2 separate regions of the Homo sapiens genome follow, and region 2 is linked to region 1. Evidence: promoter capture Hi-C in human tissues and cell types (Jung and others, 2019). All regions are on one chromosome and are shown on one strand. Each heading gives the region's core, a stretch centred on a gene start or on the middle of the fragment in contact. The rest is flanking DNA. Distances are from core to core; before and after follow the strand shown.

Region 1 (6,992 bases), core at 1,720-4,219:
GAGGTCAGGAGATCGAGACCAGCCTGGCCAACATGGTGAAACCCCATCTCTACTAAAAATACAAAATAGCCGGGCATGGTGGCGTGCACCTGTAATTCCAGCTGCTTGGGAGGCTGAGGCAGGAGAATCACTTGAACCCAGGAGGCAGAGGTTTTAGTGAGCCAAGATCATGCCACTGCATTCCAGCCTGGGTGACAGAGCAAGACTCTGTCTCCAAAAATAAATAAATAAATAAATAATAATTGCATTTTAGTAACGACTAATGATGTTGAGCATCTTGTCATGTGCTTATTGGCCATTGGTGTATTTTCTTTGGAGAAATCCCTGTTCAAACCCTTTTTCCATTTCCAATTGTGCTATTTGTCTTATTATTGAGTTGGGATAAACATCCCTGTCTTTCCAGTCTAGCAATTAAAACAACTAAGTAAATTCGTATTTATCGAAAAATAAATTTAGAAATTTATTAATACATTTTTTTAAATATAGGTTCTTACTGTGTTGCCCAATATGGAGTGCAGTGGCTATTCACAGGCTCGATCACAGTGTACTGCAGCTTTGAACTCCCAGCCCTCTCGTCCCAGCCTCCCAAGTAGCTGAGAATACAGGCATGCACCACCACACCCAACTTTAAATTCACTTATGTATTAAGGTTTTAAAAGACCCTTACGGCAACATATCAGTCCTTTTTTTTTTTTTTTGAGATGGAGTCTAGCTCTGTTGCCCAGGCTAGAGTGCAGTGGCATGATCTCGGCTCACTGCAAGCTCCACCTCCCGGGTTGAAGCGATCCTCCTGCCTCAGCCTCCTGAGTAGCTGGGATTACAGGCGCCTCCCCACCATGCCCAGCTAATTTTTGTAATTGTACTAGAGACAGGGTTTCACCATGTTGGCCAGGCTGGTCTCGAACTCATGACCTTGTGATCCAGCTGCCTCGGCCTCCCAAAGTGCTGGGATTACAAGCGTGAGCAACTGCGCCCGGCCATATATCAGTCTTTAAATAAAAGCCAAAGCCCTTTCTATGGCTTGCCAGCAGGGTTGAATCTCTGATTACTTCTCTCTTCTCATCTAATTCAAATTCCTTCATTGACTTTCCAGCCCACTAACTGTTGATGTTCCTTGGTGGTGCCAAGCAGGTTTGTGACTCAGAGTCTTTGCACCTGCTCTTTCTTGGGCCAGAAACCCTCTGACTCCAGATAACCTCATGCTCCCCCTGGCTCCTCATTCTTACCTCAAGTATTTTTTTCCCTGCCTTCCTCCCTCCCCACTCACTCCCTTGCCTCAACTCTTAGGTCACATTCTTAGGGAATTCTTTCCTGAGCAGAAAACTAATTCATTAATTAATCAATTTATCCATATAGCCTTTTGCTCACTGCATATTCATTGAGAACCTTTCAAGTGCCTTGAAGTAGTTTGGGTGTTATGGGTACACCAGTGAACAAAACAGACAAAATTGCTTCCCAGAATAAGCTTACTTCCTGGGGAATGGTTTGGGAGAGAAGTGCAATAAAATGTCATCACTATCAGGGAGTGACAACAGAAGGATCAGGGGACAGGGTCTCAGGTGTTGTGCCATTTATAAGGGTGGTCAGGTAAAACCCATTTGGTAAGATAAAATATATGAATGGGGAACTATAGGAAGTGATAAAATAAGACTTGCAGATATTTGGAGGAAAAGCATCCTAAGGAGAGCAAAAATTCTAAGGAAGGAGTGAGTCTTGTGAAATATGAAATAGTCCAATGCAGTTGGAGCAGTGAACCCAGGAGGGGTAGGAGATGAAATCATGACAGTATATACAACAGGGGGCCAGGTCATACAGAGTTTTAAAAACTGTTTTCAAAACTTTAGATTTACTTTGAGTAAGATGGGGCATCAGGGAAGTGTTCTAAACCAGGGAGTGAATGATTGTGAATGATTGGGCTAATATTTAATTCTGTCTCTCTGTCTGCTGAGTGTAGAATAAATCATGAGGCAGAAACAGGGTGACCAGCTAAAAGCCTTCCATGATATCCCAAGTCAGAGATGATGGTGGCTCAGCAGTGGTAGCACTGAAGGTAGTGAGAAGTCATCAGATTCTGGATATATTTTTTAAATTTATGGGAATAACTTTTTAAATGTACAATATTTCTCATAGTGATAAGTCCCATGAAAAAGAATTAGGAATAAAGTTTGAAAAGGAATAGAAGAGGGCCATAGGTTTGGCAATTTTTAAAAAGCTGACCATGGAAGACCTTTCTGAATGAATGACCTTTGAATAAAGATCCAGTTGAAGTGAGGGAGCAAACCACGTGGGTATATAGGGAAATCACAATCCATAGGGTGGGAACAACAAGAATAAGAACCCTAAGGCAGAAGCAAGCCTGGTATGTTCAAAGAACTGTAAGGAGTCTATGGACAGTGTGAGATTGTGGGTCAGAGAAGCTCGGGACAGTGAAGCAGAGCAGAAAGTGAGGGGGCTGGAAAATAGACAAGGTGAGATTGGGGGACAAAGAGATGAGTATGGAGAGAAAGACTGAAAAAGAGATGGGGGACTGAGAAAAAAGAGACGGAAAGACTGAGTGTGGGAACAACTGAGGGGTACTGAAGATATGCTGAGGGGCAGAAAGAAAAGACTGAGAATAAGTGGGCAACTGGGGTTCCAGAGGAGGTGCTGAGGTGGGGAGAGACAGAGGTTGAAGGACAATAAGGCATGCAAAGGAGGAATCTGAGATAAAGAGAAGGTAGACCGAAGAGCGGAGAGGAGGAGACTGAGACAGCGAGGGCTACTGAGAGCTGAGGGAAGAACAGACTGAGAGGCCCAGAGAGAAGAAACTGGGAGTTCCGATGCTGCATCAGCAGCCTCTGTGTACAGACTCTGGCGTCCCTGCCCCGCTTTAGCAGTTCCTACAGACGCTTGACCTGCCAGGAAAGGAAAGAAACCTGAGCCTCTGCTGAAAGGTGATGGATTTAAGGCCCGGCTGCTGAGGATAAGATAAAGGTCCTCCTGGGGGAGAACAGAGTCCCGAACACCATGGCCGTCTGGCTTGCCCAGTGGCTGGGCCCTCTGCTCTTGGTTTCCCTCTGGGGACTCTTGGCTCCAGGTAAGAGGAGGCTGAGGGTCAAGCAGGGCATCCTAAGGGGGCCAGCCTGACTTCCTTCCCTCCATGTCCCACAGCCTCCCTTCTTAGGCGCCTGGGTGAGCACATTCAGCAGTTTCAGGAGAGCTCTGCCCAGGGCCTGGGCCTGAGCCTGGGGCCAGGTGCTGCAGCCCTCCCAAAAGTGGGGTGGCTGGAGCAACTGCTGGACCCCTTCAACGTGTCCGACAGACGATCCTTCCTACAGGTGAGGCCGGGAGACGGGGAGTCCACTAACCATCCTGCCCTCTCCTCAGTCTCCCTCATCTCTTCCTCAGTCTGCACTTTTTTCTCTCTCCACACCTCAGTTCTCCCCATCCCTCTGCTTGAATCTCATGTTATGCTTGCTGTCAGTATCCCTTTTCCTGCCCTTTGTAGATTTGGCCTTACTCTCTCCTCTCCTCGGGGTCCCACTCGTTTTGTCCCTCAGATCTTGCCCTTCACCATTTCTTTCTCTCTGTCATTCACATTCACTGCTCCTCCCTACCCCCTTGTCCCTGTCCAGACTGGACACAAAACCTACCACCAGGTCTCAGTAGGTAGCAGAAATTTGAACCAGCTTTGGAATCAGACCTAGCTCACAACAGGCACTCAAAGATATCTATCGAAAGAAGGAACAAATTCGCCATTTTTCAGTGCTTCCTCTGTATTTAGTCTCCAAATATCATCCCACTTGGATCTTATTCCTAAATCCATCTGCATTTATTTCTTATTTTACAATTATTACTTCAAGAAATAGCAAGTTCCTTCAATGTGAGAGCCACTCCCTCAGTTCTGGGGATATAAGAGTGAAAAACCAGGTCAAAAATTTGCTTTTGTATATTTTGCATTCTAGATGAGGAGATGAACAGGGGAAAAGTGAGCAAGTAAATAAACAAGCTCATTTCAGACACTGTTAAGTACATAAGGAAAGATCCATTAGGAAGAGAGACTGGAACAAATGAGGAATTGAGAATAAGTCAGGACTCTCACAGTGCCATTTCTTCTTCCCCATCCCACCTCTCAGCGTTACTGGGTGAATGACCAACATTGGGTTGGCCAGGATGGACCCATATTCCTGCATCTAGGGGGTGAGGGCAGCCTTGGGCCTGGCTCAGTGATGAGAGGTAAGAGGCAATGTTGGGGGAAAGGAGTTGGGATGCTGGTGGGGACCAGGAAGGGGAGCTGCATATTGCAATGCTGTGAGACCTGAGGAGTGAAAGGGCTTAAACTCAACTTGCATCTCACCTCCCCACCCCCCACCCATACACTCTTCACAGGCCATCCCGCAGCCTTGGCCCCAGCCTGGGGCGCCCTGGTGATAAGCCTGGAACACAGATTTTATGGCCTGAGTATACCTGCTGGAGGCCTGGAAATGGCCCAGCTCCGCTTCTTGTCCAGCCGCCTTGCGTGAGTGGAGGAAGGGAAAGTGTTTATGGTCAAAGGACAGGAATGTCTGTGCTTTGGCATCTCTGCATCTGTGTCTCTCTCCTCCACTGTCTGAAGTCAACCTCTGAGTCTCTGGTTCCCTCTGTTTTCTTCTGTGTTTCATAGGGTCTTGTTTTTTCTCTTTCCATTTCTGGGTCTCTGACTCTCCCTATCTGTCTTTCTCTTATCCTGTGTTCTTTCTATTTCTGCGTCTCTGTCTGAAGTAAGCCACTGTATCACTGTGCAGACCACCAGCATTCCTTACCTGGATTACGGCCACAGCATTCTCACCATTTTTCCTGCTCTGCCCTTGACTTCCAGGTGGAAATCAGAGTAATTCTGTTAGAGCATAAACCAGGACATGATCCTCCCTGGCTTAAGTCCCTCAGACATCTTCTGTATTGCTTCAGAAGTAAAGCAATTTTGACTGTATTTGACTTCAGAGTAAAGTCAAAGCTTTTACAGTCGCCATGGAGTCCAGTGGGTTTTGGCCTCTAGTTAACTCTGACCTATACTCTCTCACTTTCACTGGGCTCCAGCTACATTGAAGTCCTCACTGTCCTCCAGACTTACACGCACATTCCTGCCTTGAGCCTTTGAACTCATCCCTCTGCATGGCGTGGCCTTCCCCTAGATGTTTTTATGCCTCTCACCCCAGCCTCCTTCAGTGCATCTCACTCCTATTAACGACCGCCACCATTTTTCCAACTTTACTTCACCTGCTTTTTGTTTCTTTCATCTGCTTTATTCTTACAGAACTTAGCTTTTTCTTTCCTCATTGGTATCTCTGTCTGTGTCTGTAACAGTCTGTTTGCCTGTCTCATTTTCTCCGTCTCTGTATCTACATCTGTGCCTCTTTGTCTCCATCTCTGTCTCTCTGCATCTTAATCTTTTCTACAAGCGAAACGGTTTTCTAACTGCAACAGGATGGTACCAACTGCAAGCCATTCAGAAAGGTTAGGGAAGAAAGAAAGCCCTTGGGAGGAGAAAGAGGATGTTAGACATATCCAAACTTCACTCTCCATTTCTCTTTGTGTCTGTTCTCTCTCCCAATACCTTGCAACTCATCAGGTTAGGACCCCTCCTTCTCCTCTTAGTAGCCCTCCTTGAGTGCCCTCAACCCTTCCCTACATTTGTCAGGTTTTCATCTAAACTGACTTGGAAATTTTTCCTCTCCTACCTAAAACGAGAAGGGAAAGAGGGTGGTGGCTTTCTAGAAAGTGGACGAGGACAGGGTCTCCCTTGGCCTAGGCACACATGTTCTGGGAAGTGTATGTGGCTTGGAGAACACTTGGAAACACGTCATGAGAAAACGGCCCTGGTTTCTGGCCAGATTCACCCATTCATGTCTCTGGATCCGGGTTTCCCCCAGAATGGGGAAATCTTCAGGGATTCCCAGCGATGAGGACCGACCGAGTCCCCCCTTTGACCCTAGGCTGGCTGATGTGGTCTCTGCCCGCCTGGCACTTTCCCGCCTCTTTAACATCTCCTCCTCCAGCCCCTGGATCTGCTTCGGAGGCTCCTATGCCGGCTCCTTGGCCGCCTGGGCCCGGCTGAAGGTCCTGCGACTCCTCCGGGTGGGCTGGGGGGAGGGAACTCGGACTCCAGGGCCCCAGTCTCAGATAATAGGAATACCCTCCCACCACGCCCCTACCTTCCTCCCGCGCCCAAAGAATTTTGCACAAGCTGTCCTCACAAGAGCCCGAGATTACACAGCGAGTAAGTGACACAGAGGCAGAAAGATATGCGATTCCAACCCCTCAGCCCGCAGGCTGACGGCGTCTCCTCCCTTAGTTCCCCCATCTCATTTTCGCGTCGGTCGCCTCCTCCGCCCCGGTGCGGGCCGTGCTGGATTTCTCCGAGTATAATGACGTAAGGATGGCGGGCAGCAGGTGCGGGACGGGGAGGGGTCCCAGCGGGCGGAGTCCCTTGACACTTCCGGATACCTTCCTCTGCGGTCCGCCCACAGGTGGTATCCCGAAGCCTAATGAGCACCGCGATCGGCGGGTCCCTGGAGGTAGGAGGTGGGGCCTAGTCCGAGGGGGACTGGGAGGGAAAAGAGGCCTCGGATGCCAGGGAAGAGGAGGCCAGAGAAGGGCGAAACCTGCAACGTGGCGGGGTCTAAGGAAGGTCGGAGCTCGGGGGAATACGCAGGTTTTGGAAGAAGGCGGGAGCTGACGAAGAGGAGGGGCACCAGGAAAAGAGGCGCTCCCCAGAGAGGGCGGGGTTTGGGCAGGGACAATCCTATCCGGAGGTGAGGCTCAAGGTGGGGCGGGGCCACAATGGAGGACGGGGCCTGCAGGGAAGACCCGAGAAGGAGGGCTGCGAGGCAGGGGATTGGGGGCGGGGGCCTGGGGGCGGGGGCCTGGGCCAAGAGCTAGGTCTGCACCCTCTGAGTCCCGCTAGGGGAAAGTGGGGAACCCAAGGAGGACGCAGGTCCTGGGTAGGGAAAGCCGAGGCCCAGCCTAAGTCTTGG
Region 2 (5,986 bases), core at 162-2,661, 230 kb after region 1:
TTCCCTCAAATTATGGTCTTCCATAAAACTAGTGAATTTCTTTTAGTCTTCTTTTGAGCCTGTAGGGGTGAGAGAATCTTTTTTCTCCCTTCTGGAGGTTGGATATTTGAGTCTGAGAAATAAAGCTGCTAGTAGACAGATTAACAGAAGAAAAGGCATACACATTTATTATGCACATATGCACAGAGGTCCCAGAAAGTGTAAGTGAGACTCAAAGAAGGGGCAGATGGTTGAAGCTTAAATAGGACTTGGAGCTACATAAAGAAATAGGAGCTTGAAGGCTCCTGGAAGGTGGTGGCGAGAAGCAATGTGAGGGTCAGGGCAGGAACAGCTCTGGGAACAAAGCTTGTCTTATTATACAGATAAAGTCTCTCAAGTAGCAGCCCTCAGAATAGGTGGTGAAGAAAAGAATTGAAGTCTGGCTGGGCGAGATGTCCCGGGCATGGAGACCTTTAGTTTTCTCTCCTGGGATCTGAGTTAATCTTCTCTGGTTAATACAGATTCCAGGAGAGGGTTCATGACAATCTCTTTCCTTCTGGAGGAACCTCCGTAAGTCAAATAAGGGAAACTTCAGTGAAAGCCCCTCCCTGCCATTCAAGAAAGAAAGAGGATCAGGAGGCAGTGGGGCTGCGGAAGGTCAGAGAGACTTTGATTCTGAGGTTGCTTCTTTAGTTCAAAGTACTCAGCACTTCCAAGAGCCATACTTTGGGGTATCATTTTCTGAGCTCTAACAAGGGTCCTCAGAAAATCTCTGTCTCTTCCCTTCCCGGTCTTCCTTCGTTTCTCCTCTTCCTCTTCCTCCTCTTCTTTCTCCTTCATCCTCTTCTTTCTACCTCCTGTCCCTCCTTCCTTTCTCTCTTCTCCTTTCTGGTCACTTTCTTCTTTTCCTCTTCCTTCTTGTCCCTCTTCCTCATTTATCTACTTAGTCGACATGATTTCTTAGCTTGCGATTGTTTCCCTCTTTTCTTAGATTAGTATATGGTTCCAAGAAGTAGATGAAAGCCAATTACAATAATCTGTGCATCCAAAGGGCTCAGGGAAACTCCAGGACCGGCAGCTTTAGACTTCAAGACGGAAGCATAAGAGGAAAAGAAAACATACTGCGTGGGTTAGATTTTGAGAGAAGGAGCGTCTGCCTTGGCCAAAAATCAAAGTAGGATCTTCCTTTTGATAGGTAACCTGGTTCCATGGGAACTCATGAACAATCTATAAATTTCTTTCTTAACCCAACTGAAGCGTGGAAGCGCATTGTGAAATGCAAAATGCCGTGCAAACGAGACCGGGTAGATATACTCCCTTGGGTTGGTGTGAGCCTAGAGACTTAGGGACCTCATCAGAGCAAGAAAGTGCAAGTAGGCTTTTCTGCATCATTTTCTGGCCCTCCAGTTCAGACACAAATCAAAAGTTAGTCCCTTCTTGAAAGCCATTAGCATTCATCAAGGAGCCTCAATGAGAGGAAGTTTCAAACAAAAACTAAATGTGTCAGGCCCAGATTTACGGTGAGGGTCTGATTCCACTTCCTTGCGGGGTCAGTTTGGGTCCAGGTGAGAGAGGTACAGTGGTCTCTAGTTTTCTGGAAACGGTACTGCTGATAGGGCAAGGACTCCTTGCGGCTGCCCCAGAGAGGTTGGCTTGTCTTATCCAACTTGCACTTCACGTTAGAGTTTCTAATGAACTCGCAGACTCCAGTTTCTTGCCCAGGAAACCATTTTTACCGTATTTTGTTCTTTTGACCGTTTCTTGTCAGTTAGCTGGTGTAAATTCTGTTTAAAGATGTGAAGGGAGCCTTCTCCATTCGTGTAGTCGTGGCCGAGTGGTTAAGGCGATGGACTAGAAATCCATTGGGGTCTCCCCGCGCAGGTTCGAATCCTGCCGACTACGGGATGTTTTACTGAGAACAGTTCAGCGAGGAAATAGGATCTCACATTTGCTTTCAGTTTGGGAGTAAAGAAACTCGTGATAGAGCCTCTGCGTGTCACCTAACATAGCCTGAACTTTTGCCGACTTCGGGATGTTTTACTGAGAACAGTTCAGAGAGGAAATACGATGTCATATTTGCTTTCAGTTTGGGAGTAAAGGAACTCGTAATAGAGCTTCTGCGTGCCACTTAACGCAGCCTGAACTTTTGCCGACTTCGGGATGTTTTACTGAGAACAGAGAGGAATCGTATTTACTTCAGAGAGGAAATACGATGTCATATTTGCTTTCAGTTTGGGGGCGAGGGAACTCGTGATAAAGCTTCTGCGTGCCACTTGACGCATCCTGAACTTTAAAAATACATCTGCAGACTCTTTATCTATTTTACCTCAACGGAGCGCAGGTATTGGTCCCACCTCTGCTTTTCCTGTCTTTGAAACCAACCGATGCACCTTTCGGGATTTGTAACTCCTATGTTAGCTAGGGCTCCAACCATGGTTGAACATAGACGGAAACCAGTGCGTCACAAAGGAGGCTAGCGAGAGTTCTTTTTTAAAAGGGTCTGACAAAGCGTCCGAGGAATGAAGGAGGAACTGGAGAGGATTCGCGGTTGGGCGGAGACACGTTCGCTGAATTGCCTTGCGTATATTTGGTAGGGGAAACGTGTGACTACAGAGCAAAGAAAGATGGACAATAGCGAGTAACTTCACAGGGATTTCCTAAGAGCTCCATTTTCACGTCAATTCCTCGTTAGTATAGTGGTGAGTATCCCCGCCTGTCACGCGGGAGACCGGGGTTCGATTCCCCGACGGGGAGGAGGCTTAAACTTTTTTTTAGAAAAGCACACTTCCGGTAAACACAGTCTCTAGTCTTCTGGGCAAATGTTGGGTTCTCTTTTTCTTTAGCAGAGTTCTTTCAAACCAACGAAATACTGATCGCAAAAACCATAAGCTGTAGAAATCATGAGGTTCTGTAATAGCAAGAAAATTTCCACTCTGCACTGTAATCTCCATCACAGTGGAGAAACCGGGTAGATACCATCTTACCCAAGTGATTGAATCAGTATTGGGACGAATCTACATTATATACCTTTTTTACAGGATGTGCTCATGAGAGCACAACGTCACTTTTGTGGTATTCTTGGCAAAAATATGTAATCTAAATCAGAAAACATCAGACAAACCCATATTGAGGGAGATTTTAACAAAATAACTGACTTGTACGCCTCAAAAACTGCAATTACTTTTGCATCAACCTAGTAACAGGCAAGCAGGGAGGAAAAATAAATAAATAAATAAATAAATAAATAAACAAATAAATAAAATAACAAAGTTACAGAACACAAAGAAAGGCTGACTAAATAGTCCACATTATAGAAGATCTTAAAGATATGACAGCAACATATGGTCTGGAATTTTTATCTTAAAGGACATTATTGAAATAGTTGGTGAAATCTCAATAAAGTCTATAGATTTTATAATATTATGAATGTGAATTCCTGATTGTATTAATTGTTCTATGGTTATAGAACAAAATGTCTTTAAGAAAATTCACACCTATTTACAAAATACGTATTTAAGGGTAAGGGGAGGTATGTGTCTTCAAACTCACTGTCAAATAGTTCAGAAATATACATTTATGTATATATATGAGAGAGAGAAGGAAAAGAAAATATAGGAATATCCTTAATGTGCTAATATTGAGGGAATTGGGGTGAAGGGTGCTCAGGAATTATCTGTATTATTCATGTACTGTGTCTGTCAGTCTAAAATAATTTCAGAATGGAAAGTTAAAAGGAGAAAAGCCTAATAAAACTATAAATGAAAATATACGAATTAAAATGTAAAAGGGCAAATATACAATTTTGAACAATGCATATGACAAGAGTGACGACTACATTAATGAATAGGAATTTAGAACTGATGAAGGAGTGGGATTCAAAATGTTATAAGTGAGCAAGAAAATTCATAACATGTGACAAAAGCTACATAAAGAGTGAATGCCTGAAACAACATTGTTTCGTAATGATTACATGTTGGAATATGAAAACAAATGGTACTAAATTTCAAAACAGCAACGACAATATAAAATGGAAAGGTATGGCGAAATCCAAATCATTCTAAGCTCCTTTATAATAAGGTAGGAATTAGAAGTGTACCTAGTATATACCCTCGACCAACGCTGAATGGATGAATATTAAAAGCAATATTTTTGTGAGCCATAATCAAAGCCAACAGCATTGCTTCTTTAATGAAAGAATACTCTTCCAGCATATAACAATATGTCTGATTTTGTTTTAAAAATACTTATTGGCCAGGCGAGGTGGCTCATGCCTCTAATCCAAGCACTTTGGGAGGCTGAGGCGGGTGGATCACCTGAGGTCTGGAGTTCGATACCAGCCTGGCCAACCTGCTGAAACCCCATCTCTACTAAAAATACAAAAATTAGCTGGGTGTGGTGGCGGGCACCTGTAATCCCAGCTACTCGGAGGCTGAGGCAGGAGAATCACTTGAACCCGGGAGGCGGAGGTTGCAGTGAACCAAGATTGCAGCATTGCACTCCAGCCTGGGCGACAGAGCAAGACTCTGTCTCCAAAAAAAAAAAAAAGAAAAATAATTATTATTAACATTTTTGTCATGAAATTTTGGCCATCAAATTTAAAAGTTAATATTATTGTGCAACACTTTCAGCCAATGGATTCTTTTTTTCGTTAACACTATTGAACAGTAGAGTGATTGATGCCTCATCCTTTTCACCTAACATTGAATCTCGTTTGTCTCTATTACTTCCTTTTAATCTATTATTTCTTTTTTAATCTAGAAGAAAAATGATTCATCGTGGATAAGAACTATAAAGCAATTGTTTTGTTTGTTTGTTTGTTTCTGGCTTTTTTTTTTTTTTGAGACAGAGTCTCGCTCTATCGCCCAAGCTGCTGTGCAATGGCGCAATCTTGGCTCACCACAACCTCTGCCTCCTGAGTTCGAGCCATTCTCCTGGCTCAGCCTCCCGAGTAGCTGGGATTGCAGGCGTGTATTTTGAGTAGAGACAGGGTTTCACCACGTTGGCCAGGCTGGTCTTGAACTCCTGACCTCGTGATCTACCTGCCTCAGCCTCCCAAAATGCTGGGATTACAGGTGTGAGCCACCAAGCCCGACTTAAAGCAACTGTTTGAAGGCACTGATAAGCTGTCAACCCAGGCAAGGCTTGACAAACTACAATCCTTGAGAGAAGGGAAGCACATTATATGAGTTTGCACATTTGAAAGTGCTTTCCTCCTGAAGGTGTGTCCCGTATTGCACCATTGTGGAATAGACCTCATGTGGAAAGAGGCAGTTGTGCTGGACTAAGGAGATACTGGTCAGAGTTTGGGGCTACCAACGTGCATAGAACTTGATGGTCAAAATTCAAGTGATGAGGGAACCACAGAGAAAGATCTCAAATTTGTATTATAAATTCTCCTTATATTACTGGCTAATTCCTAAGTTGTACCTACACAGGAAGATGTTCCAGTACAGGAAAGAGCAACTGGAAGGCTAATGATCTGTAGAGATCCAGTAGCTGCATGGTTCTAGGGAGACAGAGGTTGATGTTCATGCCTCTCCCAGTTGGAGCCCCATTGGTAAAATGGCTGTTGTTTTGAGACTTCAGAAATACTAACCCTTAGCACTAAGTGATAAACCTTTAAAGTAAGGACCACATAAAAGGAGTAAGGCTATGCCTTCACAGCAAGGAAAAACTAAACTAGACAAATTGTAACAAAGCTTCAGTCTTTGTTGTATCCGGGAAAAACTACCAGAAGACTCTGAATGTTTGGAAATAAAGCAGTTTGTGTCCTACACTCTACAGGTCAAAGAAGAAAACACAATATAAATTTTTAAATGTTTTAAGCTGAAAGATAATGAAAATAAGACGTATCATAATTTGTCTAATGCATCTAAAGCTGTTTATAGAGAACAATTTTTACTTTTAACTACATGTATTACAACAATAGAAAGATTGAAAATCCATGATCTAACTCAAGAGACTATAAAAAGCCAGCAATTTAAATGCAAAAAGTACAAGGAGCTAT

What was found. Contacts are between HindIII fragments. The study calls those that stand out against the background at their distance.
Region 2: a fragment that was not itself captured here is called in contact with the fragment with the promoter of PRSS16 in region 1 in 2 of the 25 tissues and cell types used here (mesendoderm cells and neural progenitor cells).

What each region holds. Positions count from the first base shown.
Region 1 is chr6:27,244,732-27,251,723 of GRCh38, forward strand. PRSS16 (serine protease 16) reads left to right here and starts at 2,970. Exons shown (of 12, transcript NM_005865.4): 1 at 2,970-3,076; 2 at 3,151-3,317; 3 at 4,116-4,215; 4 at 4,369-4,498; 5 at 5,952-6,075; 6 at 6,311-6,388; 7 at 6,486-6,533. The coding sequence starts at 3,007. RefSeq lists enhancers at 6,021-6,070, 6,201-6,270, 6,411-6,780. The HindIII fragment of the contact is 6,552 bases long and covers 1-6,541 here.
Region 2 is chr6:27,477,013-27,482,998 of GRCh38, forward strand. TRS-AGA2-2 (tRNA-Ser (anticodon AGA) 2-2) reads left to right here and starts at 1,800; the gene lies at 1,800-1,881. It overlaps TRD-GTC2-6 (tRNA-Asp (anticodon GTC) 2-6), which reads left to right and starts at 2,662; the gene lies at 2,662-2,733. RefSeq lists a silencer at 2,715-2,774. The HindIII fragment of the contact is 5,093 bases long and covers 1-3,958 here.